Linked DNA regions of Homo sapiens: all the other regions are linked to region 2. Evidence: promoter capture Hi-C in human tissues and cell types (Jung and others, 2019). All regions are on one chromosome and are shown on one strand. The core of a region is centred on a gene start or on the middle of the fragment in contact, and the rest is flanking DNA. Distances in the headings are between cores, read along the strand shown.

Region 1 (3,180 bases), core at 676-3,175, 47 kb after region 2:
AAAAAAGAAAAAGAAAAAAGAAAGAAAAAAATTTAGATGTGTTATACCTTTTTAGTGGATTAATCCGTTTCTCATTGTAAGATGTCCTTCTTTATCTTTAGTAATGCTTATTACATTAAAGTTTACTTTTTCTGAACAGATGTGGTGGCTCACATCTGTAATCCCAGCACTTTGGGAGGCCAAGGCAAGAGGATAGCTTGAGGCCAGGAGTTTGAAACCAGCCTAGGCAATATAGTGAGATCTCATATCTACAAAAAATAAAAATTAGCCAGGCATGGTGGCATGCATCTGTAGTCCCAGCTACTTGGGAGGCTGGGGTTGCGGGGATGGCTTGAGCCCAGGAGGTCCAGGTTGTAGTAAGTCACAATCTTGCCACTGCACTTTAGCCTGTGCAACATAGTGAGACCTCATCTCAAAAAAAAAAAAAAGTTTACTTTTTCTGATACGTGACTATATATTATCCTTATTTTTCCTAATGCTTATATGGCATATTTTTGCCAATTATTTATAGCCAGGCTTTCTATGCCCTTATATTTAAGATATGTTTCTTATAAGTAGCAAATAGTTGAGGATTTTTTAAAAATCCAATTAGACAATTTTTACATTTTAATTGTAGCACAGTCAATGTACATTCATGGAAATACTGAAATAATAACTTAGTTGGGTTTAAATCTATTGTATGATTTATCTTTTCTTTGTTCTATATTCCTTTTCCTCTCCTTTGTTGTCTTCTTTTGAATTGGTCAAGTTTTTTTTTTATCATTCCATATCCCCCTTCTATTGGCCTTTTAGGTATATATTCTTTTATCTCCTTTTTAAGTGATCACCTTAGAATTTATACCATGCATTCCTGATTTATAATAGTTTAGTATTAATTAGTACTTTTACTACTTCCTGGACAATGGAAGAACCTTAGAATACATTAACTCCACTTATCTCCCTCCGCCCGGGTGGGTTTTGGTAGGTAGTTATGAAGATAAACTAGTAGTCTGCTAGCTGAGAAGACATTGTAGGTACTTAAAACAGCAAGTCTGTGTGTAATGATCTCCTTTGCCCTCTCCAACACATTCTCTCCTGTTTCTGTGAGGCTGACCACTTGGATAACTGCATCACCAAGGTGGCTTTGTCCTCTCCCTTTCTGTTTTGTAGCTAGCGGGAGGGACTGGCAAGAGACTGCAAGATTAGAGCAGTTGGAATACTTATTCTCTCCTTCCCATCATCCCTGCCAGCCTGCCATGGTTCTGACTGCAGCTGCATCCTCCTACAGCTCCAACCTCACACAACCCCTTTCCCAAGATCTGACTCCTGCAAGAGTCTGGTCTGGAAGAAGCTGCAATAATATTCCACATCCACTAGCTGTCCAGTACACATATAATAAAACCCACATCCTCATTGTGATCTACAAGACGTTAGTTGATTTGGCCTCTGTCTGCTAATCGGACCTCGGCTGTACTTTCTCACTCATTTACTGCTTCTTTGTCAAATAGTCCTTTTTTACCCTGTTCAGAAAACATATCAAGTTCCCTCCAGTCTCTGGGCTTTTGCAATTGCTCTTTCCCTTCTTGGGCACATTTTCCTTCTCATCATCCAAGTTTCAGCTCAACAATCACATTCTTAGCGAAGGCTTTAATAGTAACTGTTTCTAAAGGGGCTTCCTTTTTCTGTTTCTCACGTATTACTGGAAGTTTGCCCCCTGTAGGACTTATTGCTGTCTGGAGAATTTTCTTTATTTATTTGTTGACTTCTGTATTATCTGCTTGCCTCCTCTACAATGTAGACAGAGGGAAACTTTGTCTGTCATATTCACCAGAGTATCTTTAGCACCTAGAAGAAACATAATAGATGCTTGATCAATATTTCTCGAATGAATGAATGAACTTATCTTTCTGTCTGGCTCCCAAACATCCCCCCCTCCTCATATATACATTCAATCCTTTATCACCCTGTATTAGGCCAATTCTTGCATTGCTATAAAGAAATACCCGAGACTGGGTAATTTATAAAGAAAAGAGGTTTAATTGGCTCATGATTCTGCAGGCTGTACAGGAAGCATAGTGGCATCTGCTTCTGGGGAGGCCTCAGGAAGCTTCCAATCATGACAGAAGGTGAAGGGGGTGCAGGTATGTCATATGGCGAAAGCAGAAGCAAGAGGCGGGGAGGTGCCACATACTTTTAAACAACCAGATCTTGCAAGAACCCCCTAACTATCACAAGCACAGCATCAAGGGATGGTGCCAAACCATTCATGAGAAATCCACTCCCATGACCAATCACCTTCCCCTAAGCCCAACCTCCAACACTAGGGAGTACAACTCAACATGAGATTTGGGTGGGGACACATATCCAAATGGTATCACATCCCCCATTTCTCACTCACCAACAAATGGGGACTTTTCCAGCAAAGACCATTAGGCTAATGACAACAAATGACTTACTTGGGGAAAGCTTCCTGTAGGAAGTGGCATCTGATGTGGTCTTCAAAGAGAGGCAGGGAACTTCTACATAGAGAATCATCCAGCAATGAATTCAAGTCTAAGAATACCAAAAACCAAACTGAACCAAAACAGAAAACAAAATTCTAGACCAAAATGTTTATTTTATTTTATATTTTGAGATAGAGTCTCACCCTGTTGCCCAGGCTGGCATGCAGTGGCACAATCTCAGCTCACTGCAACCTCTGCCTCCCAGGTTCAAGAAATTATCCTGCCTCAGCCTCGAGAGTAGCTAGGACTACAGGCACGTGCCACCATGTCTGGCTAATTTTTTTGTATCTTTAGTAGAGATGGAGTTTCGCCATGTTGGCCAGGCTGGTCTTGAATTCCTGGCCTCACATGATCCGCCCACCTTGCCCTTCCAAAGTGTTGGGATTACAGGCATGAGCCACCGCACCCAGCCCCAAAATATTTTTTTAAATGAAAACATTTAGATTTTGTTAGTTTTCTAGTGCTATATAACAACTTACCACACACTTCACAGCTTAATGGGGGCCAAAATTCTGTCTACCACAGACACAAACACGGAAAAACAAAACTGGCTTCTGGAAGGGACTGAAGAACCCTAAAGACAAGTCTAGTCTCCCAAGGATAAAAAAGCAACTACCATTTTGATTTTGGAGATAAGCCCTACCTTCTCTCTTTTTAGATGTTCATCAGCTTTTCAATGGAATCTGAAATTTAAAAA
Region 2 (3,586 bases), core at 501-3,000:
CAGAGATGGAGACTCAACTAAAGCAACCCAGTACCAACTGGGAGATGCAATAAATAAGTTTCCATTTGGCTACAGTGGCTCTCCCAGGACACACACAAGAGCCAGCTTCCATACTGTCCTTCTCAGGTGCTATGAGGGGACACACCACAGCTACACAGATTGAATTTGTGAATCCAAACAGGTCTTCATATCTGTAGACGCCCTGAAAATCGACCTGCTCTAACAGCCTCCAAACAATTCACACCTGCTCCTGGCTGCCCAATGTCCTGTGAGAACTCTCTCCCCAGGTGGACTAATTTAAGGGCACTCTCACCCAGACCTGGTTAAAAATCCACAGCAGTCACCAGGAGGTCTAGTCCCTCCCTGGAAGCCCAGCAAACCCATAAGCATCTAAATGGGGTATCAGAGGAGTGGAGATGATGTCATGGGTCTGAGAGCAGGAAAGGCTGCCCAGTGGGCTGTGAGGATGCCCAGGACCAGGGACATCAAGGAAGAGAGGAGATATCCCTTTAACGCATTCATAACTCCAAGGCACAGCTAAGAATGAAGTGAGCCTCAACTTAGCAAACCCACAGGCCACCAAAGACACCTCGACAGCCAAGCTGCTAGAAGCACTTGGCAAAATAGGGCAGCTATTGGACATGTGGATGGCACAAACACCAGGCAGGCAAGATTCTGCTGAAGAAAGTTCACTGGGCCCTGTCACCCACATTCTAGGCATCAGATGCCCAGAAATAAACGTCAAGGGGCCAAGGGCGGGCCCAGTCCAGGAGGGACAGCTGACAGCTGTGGGCGGCGGGCAGGGGCAGAGGAGGAAGGGCTCCCAGGCTGGAATTCGGATCATGCCCACATCAGCAGAAAAGTTCCTGGGAACAGCACGCTGTCTGGAAGGGAAAGAGGCTTGCTGCGGTCCAGGCCCCGGGATGCACACGCGGTGGTGATGCCAGGTTCAAAGGGCCGCCGGATGAAGCCCCGTGTCCTCTCCCAGGGCCCCTCGCCGGTCAGGGCGCCCATCGCGGGGCAAGTAGGGTGGTCAGACGTCTTAAATAAAGCTTCGGTTCCCAGGATCAGTGGGGAAAAATGAATTCCCAGATCCGGCCTTGCTTCAACTCACTTTACCCAAACCAAACAGTCCCAGAGAGGAATGAAAGGAAGCAGCTTTGCTACTCCCTCCGCGGTGCAGGTGGGGAAACTGAGGCACGGAGTGCACGCCAGAGACTCGGGAAGAGGCCCAGAGGAGGCTAACGCAGCCGCGCGCGACCAGGCGTCTGGGAAGATGAGACCAGGGAAGAGTTCTCTCCTCTCCTCTCCTTTCCTTTCCCCGCCTCCGTTCCTCAACACACACAACACACACACAGCCACACTCGAGCTACGCCCAATCGGGGCAGCCGCCGGGCTCCCCAGACCCGGACTGCACACAGAGCCCCGCCCGCGCACACAGCACAACACGACCCGGCGCGCACGCCCACACAATAGGACGGCTCGCACCCCGCGGCGGCCCCTCGGCAGGGTCCGGGCCAGCCCGGCGCCGGGGTCCGCCCTCCGCGCTCACCCACGCCCGGAGAGCGGCCCGCGCCCGGGAGAGGACGCGATCGCACCCGGCCGCTGCGCCCCGCGCCCCGCGCCCCGCGCCCCGCGGGAAGTTCGCCGGCCGCCCCCCGACTCACCCGCGGCGCTGCTCAGCAGCAGGCACAGCGGCCCCAGCAGCCACATGGCGCGGCCGCCGCTCCCGCTGCCCGGCGTCGTTGCTGCCCCCGCGGCCTCGGCGCTGACCCCGCCCCTCGCCGCGCCGTCCCCGCCCTCCCGCCTGGCCCTCCTCCCTCCCGCCTTCCCCGGGCCCGGCCCCGGCCCGGCTCCGCTAAGTTTTGCAAGCGCCTGGGCTGCGCGTGGCCACCCGCATGTTACCCTGGGTGTCCTGACTCCGAGGGGCCGCCGAGCGCGGCGGAGGGTTCAGCCTTTCGGTCTCTCAGCCTTTCAGCCTCCCAGGTCTGGCCGCGAGGATCTTCTAACAGCCTGGGCTCTGTTCTCTGCTTCCTTTTGTCCCTCTCATTTCTGCCTTTGCTTCCACACCCAGCGAGATGCAGCGCCCAGACCAAAACTTGAGTTCTTTACTCAAACTACAAAGTGAGTTTACTACCGAGAGAGAAAAAGTTAAAATAAAGGGTCAAATCTTATGAGAAAATTGTAGTATATTTTTAGTAGCGAGTGTGGAATACCAGTGCTTCTCAAACTTTAATATGCATCCGGCACACTTGACGATCTTGTTAAAATACTGACTCTGGTTCAGTAGATCTGGCGTGGAGCCTGAGATTCTGCATTTTTAACAACATGGTGGCTGATTCCAAGGCTGATGATCCGGGAGCCACCGGTAAGAGCAGCTGACACCTACCATGCACACAGCGTGGACCACATGAGTTATTTTGTCTGCATAGTGTCCACCTTGACCTGTTGAACGTTTGGGACCCAATTTGGAAAAAATAAAATTAAAAAAAGGAAAAGGTCATGAAAGGCAGATACCCAAATGCAAAAAATATAGCTGCACCAATGCACTTGCTTCCAGAGGGCACTGGTGAAAAGCCCCAAAAGACTTAGATGGTGGAAGAAGGGGATGACACTTCTGTGCTCCACTCTCTCTGATCCCCCACCCAAAAAAAGCAAAAGACTAACGCAAATAATTGCCAAAAACTGGAAACAACTCAAGTGTCCATCAATTGATAAATGGATCAATAAATTAAAACTTTTGGGGGCAGTGGGACTGTTCTAATCTTGATTATAGAGGTAGTTACACAACTGTATACATTTGTCAAAACAATAGAACTGCATCCCTAAAATCCACCCCTCAAAAGGGTTGAGTTTATTTACACAAACTCCACCTGGCTGAAAGAAAGGGGAAGGTATGGGTACAGGGGCAGTTATAAAAGGGATGCCTGCGTCAGATTTTGGGATGCCCTGGAGACACCCTCAAGGGTGTTAAGATTCAATTACTTTACTCTGTAATTGCGTGCTGTAGTCTGGAAACATAAAGGCTAAAAAGGATCAGGTCAAAATTTAAAAATACCAATGATTGTTCAAGGTAATGAGAAAATGTGATGTGAGGGAGGAAAGGTTAAGTTCCATAGTTCATAGTACACATGGAAAATATAAATCAATTATCTAAATGATTTGGCATTCGGGGCTTTTATCCTGGGATTGATGAATATTATGGAGATCGTCCCATGGGCTTCAAAGAATTTTAAAGCCCTTAAAATTTTATGCAAAATGTCCTGTGCATGTGGGTATGTGCATTGTTCCGGGAAGCTTGTTGGGAAGAGGCCTCCTGCCTTTGATAATAATATCTGAGGAGGCAAATAAGCAAATAATTTCTCCTACAGCTGCTCATTTGCCTCCAAACATTAGGGATACGGAAAGATAATGCAACTGACCCACTGCTATAGTTCTTATTTCCTTAGGTTTCTTTGGACACATCAACTTCCTTACTTTGCAAGTTTGACTCTGACTCTCTCTCTCGTTCTCTCTCTCTCACATACACACAGGCACACACACTTTTAAATATAAATATATTAATGTCTTTGAAATCATTTGGACT
Region 3 (3,240 bases), core at 192-2,691, 44 kb before region 2:
CATATAACTAAGCAGGTGAAAGATCTCTATAAGGAGAATTACAAAACACTGCTGAAAGATATCATAGACACAAACAAACAAACAAAACCTTCCATGCTCATGGATTAGAATAATCAACATTGTTAAAATGGCCATACTGCCGAAAGCAATCTACAGATTCAATGCTAATCCTATCAAACTACCAATGTCATTTCCCACAGAATTAGAGAAAAGTAATTCTAAAATTCATATGGAACCAAAAAAGAGCCCAAAGAGCCAGAGCAATCCTAAGCAAAAAGAACAAAGGTGCAGGCATCACATTACTGGACTTCAAACTATACTATAGGGCTACACGAACCAAAACAGCATGGTAATGGTACAAAGACAGACACATAAACCAATGGAACAGAAGAGAGAACCCAGAAATAAACCTGCACACCTACAGCCATCTGATCTTTTACAAAGTCGACAAAAATAAACAATGGGGAAAGGACTTCCTATTCAGTAAACGGTGCTGGGATATCTGGCTAGCTATAAGCAGAAGAATGAAATTGAACACCCATCTTTCACTATATACAAAAATTAACTCAAGATAGAGATTTAAATATAAGACCACAAACTATAAGACTCCCAGAAGAAAACGTAGGAAATACTATTCTGGACATCAGTCTTGGCAAAGAATTTATAGCTAAGTCCTCAAAAGCAACTGCAACAAAAACAAAAATTGACAAGTGGGACCTGGCCAGGCATGGTGACTCACGCCTGTAATCCCAGCACTTTGGGAGGCCGAGGTGAGCAGATCAAGAGGTCAGGAGACCGAGATCATCCTGACAAACACAGTGAAACCCCAACTCTACTAAAAATACAAAAAATTAGTAGGGCATGGTGGCATGTGCCTGTAGAGCCAGCTACTTGGGAGGCTGGGGCAGGAGAATCGCTTGAACCCAGGAAGTGGAGGTTGCAATGGGCCAAGATCGCACCACTGCACTCCAGCCTGGGTGATAGAGCAAGACTCCAACTCAAAAACAAAAAAAAAATTGACAAGTGGGACCTAATTTAACTAAGGAGCTTCTACATAGCAAAAGAAACTATCAACAGAGTAAACAACCTATAGAATGAGAGAAAATATTCACAAACTATGCATCCCACAAATGTCTAATATCCAGAATCCATAAGGAACTTAATTCGAAAAGCAAAAATCAAATAACCTCATTAAAAAGTGGGCAAAAGACACGAACAGCCACTTCTCAAAAGAAGACATACAGCCAGGCACACTGGCTCATGCCTGTAATCTCAGCACTTTGGGAGGTTGAGGTGGGAGAATCACTTGAGCCCAGGAGTTCAAGACCAGCCTGGGCAACATAGTGAGACCCCATCTCTACAAAAAATAATTTAAAAATTAGCAGGCATAGTGGCGCATGCCTGTAGTCCCAGCTAATTGGGAGGCTAAGATGGGAGGATGGCTTGACCCGACGAGATTGAGACTGCAGTGAGTTGTGACCATGCCACTGCACTCCAGCCTGGGTGACAGAGTGAGACCATGTCTCAAAAAACAAACGAACAAAAAAGAAGGCATACAAGTGGCCAAGAAACATATTTTTAAAAATGTCATTAGAGAAATGCAAATCAAAACCATAATGAGATACTATCTCATACCCGTCAGAATGACTATTATTAAAAAGTCAAAAAACAACAGATGCTGGTGAGGCTGTGGAGCAAACGGAACGCTTATACACAGTTGATGGGAATGTAAACTAGTTCAGCCACTGTGAAAAGCAGTTTGGAGATTTCTCAAAGAGCTTAAAACAAAATTACCATTTGACTGACCCAGCAATCTCATTACCAGGTATATATATAAAAGAAAATAGATCATTCCACCAAAAAGACACATGCACTCGTATGTTCAACGTAGCACCATTCACAATAGCAAAGACATGGAATCAAACTAGGTGCCCATCAACAATGGATGGGATAAAGAAAATATGGTACATATACACCATGGACTACTACATACACAGCCATAAAAATAACAAAATCTTGTCCTCTGCAGCAACATGGATGCAGCTGGTGGCCATTATCCTAAGTGAATTCATGCAGGAACAGAAAACCAAATACCGTATGTTCTCATTTATAAGTGAGAGCTAAATATTGGGTATTCATGGACATAAACATGGCAACAACAGACACTGGAGACTGCTAGACAGAGGAGGAAGGGAGCAGGGCAAGGGCTGAAAAACTAAGTATTGGGTACTAAGCTCACTACCTGGGTGATGGGATCAATCATGCCCCAAACCCTAGCATCTTGCAATACCCTCATGTTACAAACCTGCACAGGTATCCCCTGTATCTAAAACAAAAGTTGAAATTATTCTTTAAAAAGATGATCCCTAAAAATATGCAGACTTCAGTAGTTTCTTGCCAGCAAGATATACAAATGTGTCATAACAAGATATACAAATGTGTCATAGCTGGTACTTGACCCACCTCCACCACAGGAGGCATGAATATTCTCTTTAGGCAGACAACTACATTAGCAAAATTCTAAGTGAAGCAGCCCCGTGAATGAGACGAATACTCAAACAGATTTTAAATGCCTCATTCATTCAACTCAACTAACCTTTGCTGAGTGCTGAGAAAAGTGTGAGGCAGACAGCCCGGTGTGAGAGATCTAGAGATACAGCCCTTGACTTTGAAGAGCTCAAGTCTTCATTTTCTCTAGTAAATGGGCCCAACACTACTCATGCCTGAGCTTTTACTCAGATTCAATGAACTAATTACCAAAAGGTGTGCTCTGCATCATCTGTGGCAGAGAGTGATACTCATCTGACAGTCCTCCCATTTCCCAGGTTAGGCAGGGCCACGTGACTAGTTTGGGTCAATGGAATGTGCAGAAAGGGGACATGTATCACTTTTAGGGTGAACAGAGGAGCTGGCAACAACAGGTCCTGCAATCTCTTCTCCTGCTGTGGCAATGTTGCAGACGGTGGAGTCTCAATCAGCCAGGAGAAAGTGACCAAGACAGGTAGAGCCCTCGCCCACTACTGCCATCCAATCTGCAGGGGCTTTTGTGTGAAAAATAGGCTTCTATGTGTTAAACTTTCCAGGAAGTTTGTTACCACAGCACAGACCTCTCCTACCCTGACTAACACATTATCTAACACATGTCCTTACATAAGCATATCACAATAAATAACAGGTTAAATTCCAAGATAAAACCACATTAATTCTTGGAGCCTGAACATCAACAATATTCTGGTAGAG

The links. The method cuts DNA at HindIII sites, captures the fragments that hold promoters and counts their contacts. A contact is called where the count stands out against the background at its distance.
Region 1: a fragment that was not itself captured here is called in contact with the fragment with the promoter of LDLRAD3 in region 2 in 1 of the 25 tissues and cell types used here (thymus).
Region 3: a fragment that was not itself captured here is called in contact with the fragment with the promoter of LDLRAD3 in region 2 in 1 of the 25 tissues and cell types used here (H1 embryonic stem cells).

The regions. Positions count from the first base shown.
Region 1 is chr11:35,895,324-35,898,503 of GRCh38, reverse strand. No RefSeq gene overlaps it. Among named protein-coding and RNA genes, the nearest start is that of LDLRAD3, 47 kb to the left of the region's middle. The HindIII fragment of the contact is 6,200 bases long and covers 1-3,180 here.
Region 2 is chr11:35,942,226-35,945,811 of GRCh38, reverse strand. It overlaps LDLRAD3 (low density lipoprotein receptor class A domain containing 3), which reads right to left and starts at 1,750. Exons shown (of 6, transcript NM_174902.4): 1 at 1,668-1,750. The coding sequence starts at 1,713. RefSeq lists a silencer at 1,400-1,839. The HindIII fragment of the contact is 6,577 bases long and covers 1-3,586 here.
Region 3 is chr11:35,986,362-35,989,601 of GRCh38, reverse strand. All of the region lies in intron 1 of LDLRAD3 (low density lipoprotein receptor class A domain containing 3), which reads right to left. Among named protein-coding and RNA genes, the nearest start is that of MIR3973, 22 kb to the left of the region's middle. RefSeq lists an enhancer at 2,411-2,912. The HindIII fragment of the contact is 9,428 bases long and covers 1-3,240 here.